Regions from separate parts of the Homo sapiens genome. Here all the other regions are linked to region 1. Evidence: promoter capture Hi-C in human tissues and cell types (Jung and others, 2019). All regions are on one chromosome and are shown on one strand. The core of a region is centred on a gene start or on the middle of the fragment in contact, and the rest is flanking DNA. Distances in the headings are between cores, read along the strand shown.

What was found. The method cuts DNA at HindIII sites, captures the fragments that hold promoters and counts their contacts. A contact is called where the count stands out against the background at its distance.
Region 2: a contact is called between a fragment that was not itself captured here and the fragment with the promoter of RAP1GAP in region 1, in 2 of the 25 tissues and cell types used here (IMR-90 fibroblasts and pancreas).
Region 3: a fragment that was not itself captured here is called in contact with the fragment with the promoter of RAP1GAP in region 1 in 4 of the 25 tissues and cell types used here (H1 embryonic stem cells, heart right ventricle, liver and 1 more).

What each region holds. Positions count from the first base shown.
Region 1 is chr1:21,667,409-21,671,970 of GRCh38, reverse strand. It overlaps RAP1GAP (RAP1 GTPase activating protein), which reads left to right and starts at 2,614. Exons shown (of 25, transcript NM_002885.4): 1 at 2,614-2,717. RefSeq lists an enhancer at 695-1,894 and a silencer at 2,543-2,692. The HindIII fragment of the contact is 12,626 bases long and covers 1-4,562 here.
Region 2 is chr1:21,745,260-21,749,926 of GRCh38, reverse strand. USP48 (ubiquitin specific peptidase 48) reads left to right here. Exons shown (of 27, transcript NM_032236.8): 7 at 1,656-1,789; 8 at 2,778-2,860. Among named protein-coding and RNA genes, the nearest start is that of USP48, 36 kb to the left of the region's middle. The HindIII fragment of the contact is 4,676 bases long and covers 1-4,517 here.
Region 3 is chr1:21,550,752-21,555,349 of GRCh38, reverse strand. It overlaps ALPL (alkaline phosphatase, biomineralization associated), which reads right to left. Exons shown (of 12, transcript NM_000478.6): 2 at 1,208-1,372. The coding sequence starts at 1,268. Among named protein-coding and RNA genes, the nearest start is that of LINC02596, 33 kb to the left of the region's middle. The HindIII fragment of the contact is 6,989 bases long and covers 1-4,598 here.

The sequences.
Region 1 (4,562 bases), core at 1,365-3,864:
TTTCTGTAAAGGGGAAAATGCTGTAATTGAAAAGCTCCTTGATTATAAAGAAGAAATAGAGACGCCTGGCATAGAAGAGACTTCGTTCTTTGGTCTGCTCAGCCAGGGTCGGGGACATTCAGTACCCCCAGGCTAATAGGCTCTTGAGCTCTTAAGGACCTTGGAGTCTGCAGGTCCAGACTCCAGAAGGTTATGGGACCATGAAGAGGTCACACAGCTGTACCCCTTGGCTTGCTGCATTTCTGCATCTCCAGTGCCTCCATCTGCCCCCTCCCTCCAGCTCAGGTGGGACACCTTTGTCTCCACTCAGCACTCTGGGATGTACCATCAGCAATGCCTGGCCAGAATTGAGGGTCTCTGTCTTAAAGCGTGGAGGAGAAAGGGGCCCTTTTGGAACAGGAGTTAGGGAAGCAAGAAGCATGAAGATTGTGCTCAGAATTGAATTCAGGGAGCAATGCATAAAAAAGCGAGAGGATGGGTAGAGAGATGGTGCTTAAAAGGATCCTGGAATCCATGTACTTCTGAGATCTGTGAGCCCCGCCCCTGCTGAAGATGAGCCAGCCCCACCCAGTACATGCTGCCCTTGAAGGTCTATAGGCATTCTGCTGGCATTTCCTAAGTAGGATGTATTTGACCAAGCATCTCCCAGGACCAGAGCCCTGCAGGACATACCTGTCTAGGGCAGTTGCTATGCCCCACAGTCCCTTCACCATCATCCCCAGAAGCGCCTCGGCCAGCCTCATTCAACTTCTTGCCTTTTTATTACAGTGTTTGAGCCAACTATATAGTCCTGGTGTATTCCTAGGCAGGAGATCAAAGGGCCCCCCGGGTTGGGTGGTCCATGAGTGAGCATGTGATACCGCAGGAGTCTTCCTCCTGCCCTGACAACTTGCCTTGTACTACCAGTGCTGCTCAGGATGTCTGCAGCCACGAAGCTTCATTATAAATGCAGGAGCTCAGGCTCCAGGCCCACTGAATCTGAATCTGAGTCTACAGACCGCTCCTGCACTCTTAGAAGTTTGAGAAACCCCCCTGGGCTGGGGTCTCTTTCCCATATACAGCTAGGGAAGCTTGCTGGAGGGAGGACTGAAAAGAACAAGTGCCTGATCTACCTTCCCCTCTGCCCTTTCACAGGTGGGTGGATGCGTGGGAAGAGGGTGGGGCATTTCCTGCTATTCCCCCTTATTCACCTTTTCTCCACGGGGATTAGAGTCTTGACCGGAAAACATGGCTCTGGTCCCCAGCCCCTATGGGACTGAAAACCCGGAGGCTTGCATGTCTCAGATCCTCCAGAGGCTGATGTAAGAGTTGCTGAAGACCTCGGATCTTTCCTTTTGTGAAATGCAGCCCATGTGGCCGGGAAAATAGTGGGAGCTGGAAGTAACAGTTGTGGTTTTAAGCACACAGTAGATGCTCAAGAAATATATTGAGTACATGTCTTGGACTTTCCCCTCCCTAAATATTATCTGTCAAGTGGGCCTATTGGACTTGTTGACCTTGGAGGGCCCTGTCGGCTTGACCCACCAATTCGAAATGGTTGAGAAAGAGGTCTGTCTTTGTACCTTTTGCAGCCTGTTTTCCCAGTTCTTAGAACATTGGGGTGAGATCCAGAGATTTCAGAGATCCCCCTGGAACACGAGTGTTCTGTGACGAGTTCATGACCTTGGAGCCACCAACCATACCCCTCACCCGTTGTCCCCAGTTCTGGCCTTGCCGACCCACTGCGTGTTTCTTTGCTTCATGTGGGCTGTTCCCCGGGGAGGGAGCTCAGTGGAGAACAGAAAGAGGTGTGGGTGAGGGCTCCCCCTTGGTGGGGAGTGGGGCACAGGAGCCTCAGGCTCTGTTGACCATCAAAGAAGGGACTCGAGTGGGCAGGCCGCTCACTTGCTGTGGACCTTGGGCAAGTCTCTAACTCTCCCTGGGCCTTGGAAGTCAGGCCGAGGTGATCTCTGCCGCCCCCTCCCTGCCTGGGTTTTCACTCTTGTTCTGATCCCACTCTCTTCCGGGTGCCTCCCTTCCACTTCTCCGTAGCCTGTGGCTCCCCTCCCCACACCCGCCCTGGGCCCGGGTTAGGCTGGGGCGGGGGCGAGCTGCCCAGTCCAGAGACAAAGTCCAAGAGCCGCGAATGGGCTGGCGAGGGTCAACCGCGTGGCCTCTGCCAGGAAGCGCGCCGAGCGCCCGGGTGAGGAGGGCGTCAGCCAGGGCACAGCAGCTTTCTCGCCCAGCGAAGCCTGTGCGCCTTCCTCCCGCGCCTGCAGACAAGCGGAGCCCATGGGGGCCGTGGGCCCCACCTATCCCGACGTCTCCACTTGATCCAGAAGTTGTCCCAGTCCCCTTGGAGCATGAGCTGTTGCCTGGACAGCTGGGCTGTCGCCCAGGTTCTGCCACTGTCTAGCTGTGTAACCTTGAGCCAGTCCCTGCCCCTCTCTGGTCCTCAGTTTCCCCACCTGTAAAATGGGGGCACCGAGAACCCTCCTCCAGGACCTGCGGCGGGGCGGGGCGGCAGGGCGGGGGCCTCCCCGCCGCTCCCGCGCCCGCGGCTTGGGCTCCGCAGTGAGTGGGGAGCGGCGCCGGGGAAGGAGCGCTCCGCGGTCATGTGACGTCCCCCTCCCCGAACTGCGGCGGCGGCGAGCGCCGGCCGCATCTGAGCAGAGCTGCAGCGGCGGCCGCGGGCACCAGAGTGCCGAGCCCAGGACGCCCCCGGCCCAGGCCCTTGGGTGAGTGCGCCCCGCCAGGGCTGCGGCCCTGGAAAGGGGAAGGGGACAGAGGTGTCCAGACTCCCGTCGGCTCGCAGCGAAGACCCCGCGCGGGCGGGCGGGGACGGAGGGTGGGGGCGAACGCGTGGGGGACCCGGGTCTCCAGGGGCGAGGGGTGGGCGCAGCTGGGCTCGCGCAGCCCGGTCTTGACAGCAGCTGGAGAAGTGGGGGGAGGCCTGGACTGAGCCGGCTGAACCCCCAGCCTGTTGGACTTGGTCCAGGCCGCGGCCAGGGGGCTTTGGTCCCACCCCCCTGGGTGGGTGGGGAGTCCAGTTTTCCGCCCACCTCGAGGTGGGGGCGCCTGGGGTTTAGAGGAGGGACTGTGGGAAGTGGGCGCGTTTCCTCCATCCCTGGGGAGGGGCCCAAGCCCTAGCGCCCCCCAGAGGGTGGCGCTCCTGTCCTCAGAGGAGGGAAGTGGGGGCCTCAGATCAAGGACCCTGAGCGGGGAGGGCGGTGATGTCCTTGCATCCCCAGAGACAGGACGCATTCCCCTGTCCCTGACCCCCGCGGCAGAGCGGGGCACACGCGTCACGAAGTTGGGCGCCCCCTCGTCGCCTCCCCTGGCTCGGCAGGATCTGAGGACTCGGTGGGAATTCACGGGGCGGTTTCCGTGCCCTGCAGGGTTTGGTGCCAGCTGCGGGGCGCCTGGGCTTGGGGAAGAAACCTTGTGTACGCACACCTGCACACACACACAGTCTCCGGAGGTGAGCGGCCCCCTCCCTACCATAACAGACCCCAGCCTGTGCATGCCCTCGGAGTCCTTGTTGGGGTCATAGCACAGGCCCGGTGGTGGGGTCAGGAAGAACATCCACTGTTCTCAGGGCTCATTGGCCTCTGTCCCCGGGCTCCATTCCCCTCCCTGCCAAGTCAGAGGTCAGGCCCCTGGGGCGGCAGGCAGGAAGGACACTGAGGGAAGGGGCACTGAGGCAGGAGGGGCACTGAGGGAAGCTGGCCAGGTGGAAGTAGGAGAGAAAGGCAATGGGGGTGAGATGGTACCACTTCCTCCCCATATGAGGCTCTCAGGAGGCTCCTGGCCCCCCCTGCACAGGTAGTGGTCCCTCCTTCCTGAGGGTGTTTGGGGGAAAACGCTATGGTTGGGGCACTGGGGAAGGTTGCCTCGCAGATGAAACAGAACATTGGCCAAAGGTGTCCCTGAATGGGCTTCTGGACTGGCACAGGGCCCTGAGGGCTGTGGCTGAGTGGGGAGGCAGTGATCAGGTCCAGCTGGCCATGGGGGCCCCCCATTCCCTTCTCCATGACCTCAGCCTCACTCTGAGAGCCCCCAGCAGCTGGAAGGTCTGGTAAGGGGTGCGTGTTCCTTGATGGCCTTGGGAAGGGTTCCAGGGTAATGATTAATCCTCAGGTGGCACGAGCAATTTCCCCCTTCACAGCAATATTTCAGGGCAGGCGCTGAAGCCTCCATTGCACAGGTGAGGAAACTGAGGCTCGGAGAGGCTAAATGAACTGCCTGAGGTCACCTAGTCACCTTCAGCAAGGTCTAGAATCGTGGTACTCTGACTCTTGATGGGAGAAGATCTCCACAGCGGTGGAGAGGAGGAAGGGTGAACGCCGTGGTGGAGTGGTCCATGTGGACCTGCTCCCCTTTGCTGCCAGGAGGTGAGGGTGCCTGTGGCTGGAAGCTGGGTCAGGTTGAGGAGAGGGTCCAGAGTCCTAGGCTTGCCTTGCCACCCCTTCCCATGGAGGGAGGGTTGTCCCGTGGAGCACCATAATGGTGCTTTCACCCTGGGACCTTCCCAGCTTGCTTGGGCAAAGCCCTCTCCTCTTCTCTTCTTCCCAAGGTGCCTG
Region 2 (4,667 bases), core at 930-3,429, 78 kb before region 1:
GAGCAGATAAAATTTGCAGGCCGGAGCCAGATGTGGTGGCTCATGTCTATAATCCCAGCACTTTATGAGACTGAGACAGTAGGATCATTTGAGAACAGTAGTTTGAAACCAGCCTAGGCAACATAGTGATAGACCGTCTTTGCAAAAAATAAAAAAATTAACCAGGCTTGGTGTTGAACAGCCATAATCCCAGCTACTCAGGAGGCTGAGGCTGGAGAATTGCCTGAGCTCAGGAGTTTGAGGCTGTAGTTAGCTATGATTGGACCACTGCACCCCAGCCTTGGTGACAGAGCAAGACCCTGTCTGTAAAAATAAAATAATGAAAAAAAAATTTTTTTTTAATTTGCAGACTGGATGTGGAGAGTAAGAGTAAGAGGGGAGTCAAGGATTACTAAGGTTTTTGGCCTGATCAACTGAAAGAATGGAGTTGCTCTAACTGAGATAGGGAGGACCTGGGAGGAGCAGGGTTGAGAGGAATTAGGAGTTTGGCTTTGAGCATGTTACGTTTGAGAGGTATAGTTCCAGGAAGAAGTCGTGGCTGGATAAAATCCCCAAGGGAGTGGGAGAGAGACAAGGACTGAGGCCTGGGACATTCAAATGTTAGGGATCAGGGAGGTAGGAGCAGCTGGCACAGGAGTCCCTGGAGGAATGCCAGTGAATTAGGAGGCAAGTCAGTGAGTGTGGTATCCTGGAAGCCAAGTGAAGAGATGATGGTACCAGTATTGCATTACTTACAATATGGTAAGTACAATATGGTACAAAAGCTTGAGCTCAGGAGTTTGAGTCTTCGGTTAGCTATGATTGGCTGCAATTAGCTTTATAGAAATATAAAGGCAAATTTTAAAAAGAAACCACTATCAGCTAAAATGTTTGATTTTTCTACACGTCTCTTTTTAGCTTTGTCTCATGAATATGTTTCAGTAATTTTAAACAAATATGTATATAATTTTGTATTCTGGTGCCCATATATCGTTTTTACACTACCCTCCTCCCTCCTGTTTTTTTCTTCATTTTTTTGAGACAGAGTCTCGCTTTGTTTCCAGGCTGGAGTGCAGAGGTGTGATCTCAGCTTACTGCAAGCTCCACCTCCCGGGTTCAAGTGATTCTTGTGTCTCAGCCTCCCGAGTAGTTGGGACCACAGGTGTGTACCACCATGCCTGGCTAATTTTTGTATTTTTAGTAGAGACGGGGTTTCACCTGGGCAGCCAGGCCGGTCTCGAATTCCTGGCCTCAAGTGATCCACCCACCTCGGCCTCCCAAAGTGTTGGGATTACAGGCGTGAGCCATGTTGCCCAGCCTTTTTGCTGTCTTTAAATGAATGTTGCATCAAAATACATGTGACATTTCTTTTTAAAACTTACTTTAGAATTCCCAGAAGTGGGATTACCAGGACAAAGAACCTAAAACAAGTATTTTTAATATCATACATTTGGGAAATAGGCACATCAGTTTTAAATATCAGTGTATTCAAATTGATAATGTCACTGCTGAACAGTTCCCATTACTTTTGTGTGTCCATTATTTATAGTAGCTGTTTTTAAGTAGCTTAAGTGAGAGCTATTAACTGAAATGAAATTATACTTTACATCAAGGGTTTTATCACTTGTTTTAAACCCATCTTCTTTTTAAAATTAATATGTCTTATTCTTGATCAGGAAGAAAAATTAGAAGGAGACAATCGCTATTTTTGCGAGAACTGTCAAAGCAAACAGAATGCAACAAGAAAGATTCGACTTCTTAGCCTTCCTTGCACTCTGAACTTGCAGCTAATGCGTTTTGTCTTTGACAGGTAAATGTGTGCAAATATTAGTGTTTGTTGTTCATTGTGGTCTACTATGTACAGACTTTACCATAGATGAGATGATAAAATGGTTGTAATTTGAAACTCTAGATTTGAGGATGAAAGTTATAGATGGAGGCTGTCATTTTGAAATGTCGATATTTCATGATTTTATCATAAAAAATTTTAAAGAAGCCAACCATATATAAATGATAACTAGAAAAGTAAAAAATCCTTACTTTTTTTATTCTAAGAAAGTATTAAAAACTGCAAGGGCCGGGTGCGGTGGCTCACGCCTGTAATCCCAGCACTTTGGGAGGCTGAGGCAGGTGGATCACCTGAGGTCAGGAGTTCGAGATCAGCCGGGCCAACATGGTGAAACCCCGTCTCTACTAAAAATACAAAAATTAGCCGGGCGTGGTGGCAGGCGCCTGTAATCCCAGCTACTGGGGAGGCTGAGGCAGGAGAATCACTTGAACCCAGGAGGCGGAGGTTGCAGTGAGCCGAGATTGCACCATTGTACTCCGGCCTGGGCAACAAGAGTGAAACTCTGTCTTGGAAAAAAAAAAAGAAAGAAAAACTGCAAGTAATTGAATTACCCTGACCTTCTGTATTGTCCTTTATTTTAAATAGAATAAATTTTGTACTCATTACACCCCCGCCATGGGAATGTATTTTTCATTTTATAATTAAAATCAAGGCAATGTTTGCACATGTGCATGTCTTCTGTAAAGCAGGATAATCTGTTTTGTGATTAAGTTGAAACTTCTGGAAAATAAGCTGTGTTTGGAATCAGCACTTCGCATTCACATTTTTTAACCTCATATTTGTCCAGCTATAAAACAATATTCTGTTTACTTCTAATTGTACATGTTTTGGAGGAAGATTGTGAAGTGAAAGCTAGCTACTGTTGAGTTTATTAAAATAGCTAATAGAGCTTATATATTGTATTATGATTGTTTTAAATGTAAATATAATCAGCTTTCCTCTTGGTTAGGCAAACTGGACATAAGAAAAAGCTGAATACCTACATTGGCTTCTCAGAAATTTTGGATATGGAGCCTTATGTGGAACATAAAGGTAATATTTTTACTGAGGAGTAAACATTATAATGCTCAGAGACTCTAACTTGTGATCGGCTTGTGATTAATATAGAATAGCAGTCAATTGCCAATTTTTGTTTGCTAATCTCTCTCTGGGAACCTCTGTCTGGGAACAAAGACTTTTTTAGGAGAGCCAAGATGTTAATTCCATTTTGTGTGAGTAAGCATATAGCAAAGATGAGGTGGTTCATCGATATGTACAGAATTAAGGGTATAAAAATAATTTGTAAAAAATGAAAAAGGTATTTTACTGTTTCTGAACCCGCACTTGCCACCTTAGTTTCAATACTATTATTTATCATTTCTCAAAACTAACAGTCTCCAAGCGCCTCTATTCACTTTTTTAAAAACGTTGTCCCAGAAACATTAGGTGGCATAATTCCAGTATTTATGCTTTCATTTTTCATATCTGCAACTACTGATACGCCCTAGGATGCTATCATTGTTTTAACAAGAAATAAGTACTGCTTTTTTCTTTTGGTAGTCTTCATCCTACCAAACAGGTTGAGTCTTACTAGAGAAAGGACTGTTTTACTTCCCTTTAAGGTTGATTGTAGTACTTATAAAATATTATGTATGTATGTATGTATTTTTGAGACGGAGTCTTGCTCTGTTGCCTAGGCTGGAGTGCAGTGACACGATCTCAGCTCACTGCAACCTCAGCCTCCCTTGTAGCTGGGAGGCTACAAGGGAGCCCAGCTAATTTTTGCACTTTAGGGTTTTGCCGTGTTGGCCAAGCTGGTCTCAAACTCCTGGCCTCAAGTGGGACACCTGCCTTGACCTCCCTAAGTGCTGGGATTACAGGCGTGAGCCACTGCCCCCAACCTGAAATTTTTAATGTAGAAATTATTTTATAAACTCTATCTCTTTCCAAAAAAATAAAAAATTTCTAGAGGCAGCTTACAATGGAAGCAAGCTGTAAAAACCTTTAAGAGACATTTCTGGAGGCAGCTTACAATGGAAGCAAGCTGTAAAAACCTTTAAGAGACATGATTGGGAAAGTTGGGGAGGAATGTGCTAAATAAATATGTAAGCTTTCAAATGTATGATACTCTTCAGTACTGTACTTTAAAATTTGTACCTCTGTGGAACAAGGAAACTGTTTTCAACTTCAGTTTTGGACTTCAATGTTAGATTGTTAAATTTTGTTGAATAAATAAACTTAGCTATAGTTCACTTTATGTAGTAGTTTGCTTCCTGCCTCCTTTGTTCAGGCAATTGAAATTGAGGAAAATCTAATGGGTTAGTGGCTTCCCAGTCCAGAAACTTAGGAGATGTGAAATGAGCACTTTGCTTGACTTGACTGGATGAGTTTGAATTGTTACTATTACTACTTACTAAGTTTATTATATATTTGCCCAGTTTATGCTATAAAGAAAATATTTATCAAAAGGACGTGTTAGATCAAAACCTGTAGAAATACTTAATTTTGGTATGTTGGTTTACTAAATATAGTATTTTTTATTTTTTATTAATTTGTTTTTGAGACAGGGTCTGGCTCTGTCGCCCAGGCTATAAATTGCATTGATGTGATCACGGCTCATCACGGACTCAGCCTCCTGGGCTCAAGCTGGAACTACAGGCATATTCCACCAGGCCCAGCTAATTTTTAGTTATTTTTTTTTAGAGACGGGGTCTTGAACTCCTGGGCTCTAGTGATCCTCCTACTTCAGCCTCCCGAAAGTGCTGGGATTACAGGCATGAGCCACCATGTTTGTCTCCTTAATTTTTAAATAAATGAATGAATAAATAAATAAATAAATATTATCTACTCATTTTAGAAT
Region 3 (4,598 bases), core at 652-3,151, 120 kb after region 1:
CTGAAGTAACTGAAGAATCACAAAAGAAGTGAAATTTAAATGGTCTGTTCCTACCTTAACTGATGACATTCCACCACAAAAGAAGTGAAAATGGCCGGTCCTTGCCTTAACTGACGACATTACCTTGTGAAATTCCTTCTCCTGGCTCATCCTGGCTCAAAAAGCTCCCCCACTGAGCACCTTGTGACCCCCACTCCTGCCCGCCAGAGAACCCCCCTTTGACTGTAATTTTTCCTTTACCTACCCCTATCTTATAAAACGGCCCCACCCATATCTCCCTTGGCTGACTCTCTTTTTGGACTTAGCCCGCCTGCACCCAGGTGAAATAAACAGCCTTGTTGCTCACTCAAAGCCTGTTTGGTGGTCTCTTCACTCGGATGCGAGAGAAAAGAAAGGAAAGAAAGGAAAGAAAAAGAAAAGAAAGAAAGAAAGAAAGAAAAGAGAAAGAAAGAAAGAAAGAAAAAGAAAGAAAGAGAGAAAGAAAGAAAGAAAGAAAGAAAGAAAGAAAGAAAGAAAGAAAGAAAGAAAGAAAGACAGACAGACAGACAGACAGACAGACAGGCCAGGCGCGGTGGCTCACGCCTGTAATCCCAGCACTTTGGGAGGCCGAGGCAGGCGGATCATGAGGTCAGGAGATCGAGACCATCCTGGCTAACACGGTGAAACCCCATCTCTACTAAAAATACAAAAAATTAGCCTGGCGCGGTGGCGGGCACCTGTAGTCCCAGCTACTTGGGAGGCTGAGGCAGGAGAATGGCGTGAACCCAGGAGGCAGAGCTTGCAGTGAGCCAAGATGGCGCCACTGCACTCTAGCTTGGGCAACAGAGCGAAACCCTGTCTCAAAAAAAAAAAAATTAAGAAAGAATATATATAATATATATGAAATATATATATGGAAAAATATATATATGAAATATATATATGGAAAAATATATATGTGGAAAATATATATTTCCTTGTATATATATATTTTCCTTGTATATATATATTTCATATATGTGTATGTGTGTATATATATATATATGGGAAAAGAGTGACCTATCCAACTAACACATGCAAGTAGCAGGGCTGAGGTTTCCTGCTCTGAACACTGTTTTCAGCTCTTAAATACTTTGGATGGTTCTGGGACCTTAAAACATAGACACTGCCCTCATCATACCCCATCTGCACCACCTTTTTATGCCTCCACCTGTGTCCCCAAGCATACCTGGCACTAAGGAGTTAGTAAGGCAGGTGCCAATGGCCAGTACTAAGAATGGTGAAATCATGGTGCACCCCAAGACCTGCTTTATCCCTGGAGCCCAGAGATGCAATCGACGTGGGTGGGAGGGGGTGGGCTGGCAGTGGTCAGATGTTAACTGATGTTCCAATCCTAGAAATTAAAAAAAGAGAAAAAGAGGCATGTGGGGCACAGCTCTAGAGATCCTTTTTCACTCACTTATTCATTCCTTGATTCATTCAACAAGTATTCGGTGAGCACCTATTACAGACCAGGCATGGGGCTCAACATTGGGATGCCAAACCCAGCTGGTCCCTGTCTCAGGAAGCTTAACCACACAAACAGCTGTGTCAGTGTCAATGAGTTCCATGCTGCAAAGCAGTTCCGTCCCATTTCCTAAGTGAATTTCCACTTTCAATTCATCTGAAGCCCCCTACCTCCCAGAGTCCAATCTTTTGGTGCAGTGTTTCTCAAACTGTAAGGAGAGCAAGCATCTGAATCCCCCAAGGGCTTGTTACAACAGATTCCCGGCCCACTGGTGAGGCTCCGATTGTATTTCTAATAAGCTCCCAGGAGAAGCTGCTGCTTTGCTGCTTTGCGGACCACACCTTGAGAAGCCCTGTTCTACAGCACTCGGTCTTCAGCCTTTTAATTACCTGTGTCCCAGGAACATCAGGGACAAAACAGAGTGCACCCCTTCTTTCAGGACCCCTACATTTGCTACATTCTCTTCTAGAGCTTGTCGTTTATGGTAAGAGATATAAAAATGGTAGGAGTCACATATGTGAAAAAACTGGCTGGTAAGTGTGGCCATTTCTGGGTGGTGACATCACAGACAACTGATTTTTCTTTTCCATTGTCTTTTCTGCATTTCCAAAATTTTCTTTTGTGCTGAGATACAGTATTATCTTTACAATTTTTAAAAAATATATATATATTTAAAGTCGGATGTAATTGAAGAGTTTAGGTGGAAAAAAAAACTGGAAGGAAATACACCAAAACATTAACTGTGGTTTTCTCTGGGTGGTAGGACTATGAATGATTATTTCCTCTTTATTTTTTTGAATTTTCCAAGTAGCCTAAAACAAGCATGTATTAATGGCATAAGAATGTTTTTACACTGTGGTCTTCCTGTTAAATCACAAAGAACAACCCCACTGGCAGCTGAGAAATGTACTAACCCTGTTGCACATGAGTTACAAGACAAAGAATTTTAAGTGGCAAGAGTTTCACTGGGAAATGTTATTGCTTCAGCCAAAACCAAGATATGACACCATTTGTTGTGGGAAACAGCAGTAATACACACTCTACCGTTAGAAAAGTGTTGTGACAGATAAGACACCACTCTAGTCCAATTATTATATGTTAAGTAAAAACAAAATAAAACATTTTTTAAAAGTTGTTTAAAGAAAAAAAGCCAGGCATGGTGGTAACATGCCTGTAATCCCAGCTACTTGGGAAGCTGAGGCTGGAGGAAGTTCGCTTCAGGCCTGGAGTTGGAGACCAGCCTGGGCAACACAGCGAGACCCTGTCTCTAAGAAAAATTTTTGTATTTTAATTTTTTAAAAGTTTCTTTTCTTTTTAAAAATTCTTCTCTTTGCAGCTCCAGCTCAAAGGAAAAAGATTTTTTCTTTTTCTTTTTTTTTTTTTTGAGACGGAGTTTTGTTCTTGTTGCCCAGGCTGGAGTGCAATGGCACAACCTCGGCTCACTGCAACCTCCGCCCCCCGGGTTCAAGCAATTTTCCTGCCTCAGCCTCCCGAGTGGCTGGGATTACAGGCTTGCGCCACCATGCCCGGCCAATTTTGTATTTTTAGTAGAGATGGGGTCCATGTTGGTCAGGCTGGTCTCGAACTCCCGACCTCAGGTGATCTGCCCACCTTGGCCTCCCAAAGTGCTGGGATTACAGGTGTGAGCTGCCGCGCCCATCCAAGATTTTTTTTTTTAATTTAAAAATAGAGAAAAAGAAAAGGAGAAAAGGAAGGAGGGAGGGGAGGGGAGGGGAGGGAGGAAAGGGAAGGGGAGGAAAGGGAAGGGAAGGGAAGGGAGAAAAAGAAACCACTACCACCAGAAGAAGGATCTTGATTCAACCTTAAAAACACGCAAATGGCCGGGCGCGGTGGCTCACGCCTGTAATCCCAGCACTTTGGGAGGCCGAGGCGGGCGGATCACGAAGTCAGGAGATCGAGACCATCCTGGCTAACACAGTGAAACCCCGTCTCTACTAAAAATACAAAAAATTAGCCGGGAGAGGTAGCGGGCGCCTGTAGTCCCAGCTACTCAGGAGGCTGAGGCAGGAGAATGGCGTGAACCCGGGAGGCGGAGCTTGCAGTGAGCCGAGATCGCGCCACTGCACTCCAGCCTGGGCGACAGCGAGACTCTGTCTCAAAAAAAAAAAAAAAAAAAAAAAAAACCACGCAAGCTGCGCTCCAGTGCCAGAAGTGACGGCTCTGGGGTAGGGGCTGGGGGTAGCGGCGCAGAGTGGAAATTAAAAGGCAATATCCCACATCTAACATCTAACAACACTTAACTGTGAGTGGTAGAATTTGGAATTTCAGATGATTCCTACATTTTTTTTTTTGTTCTACTTTACGGTTTCCAAATATTTCTATAGCAAATCCTAAAATCAGAAAAATGTTATTAACTGAATACGAAATACTAATTCATTAAACTATTATTTAAAATCACTTAAAAATGAAGTCACCTCTTTCAGGAAGGCTCCAGGATGGTCACTCACTCATTCCAATATAACACCACTGAGCTTCATGCCACCTCAAACATCGCATGTACCTCTCTTTTTGAAGGTAATATAGTTCTTTCCTGGGCCATCTCAGCTGCCACACCGGGAGTTTCTAAGTGTGAGGACTTTGTCTTGTTTGTCTCTGCCCTCCTAGTGCTTGGCATAGTAAATATTTACATCAGTTGAAAGCCAGTGCCCTAAGGAAGGTTGTGGGGGGAAGGGAAGAGCCATCCAAAATTATCTTCTCTGTGTGTGCAGGAAAGTCCAAGAGTTCGTGAAGATGTTTAACTACCGGAAGGTCCGCTCGCCGTTGGTGGAGTGCAGACAGGCACAGCGCATGGGAAAACCGGCAGGATCTACCGAAGCTGATCATCCTACCTGTACCCTGGGACCCGTTTCTCTCCAGCAGAATGTGCACATCAGCCCTGTTTATAATGGCTTCAAAACTGCCTCCATCTACGGCAGGCTGGATAATACATTGTGTGTGTTCACAACACAGAAACCACCACAGACAGCAAGGAGAATGGATGATCCACAGCTCCTCACAACAACATGAATGAATCGCACAAGGTAAGCTTGAGCAAAGGAAGCTAAACCCAAGAGCACTTACAGTGTGATTCCGATGACAGAAAGTATAAAAA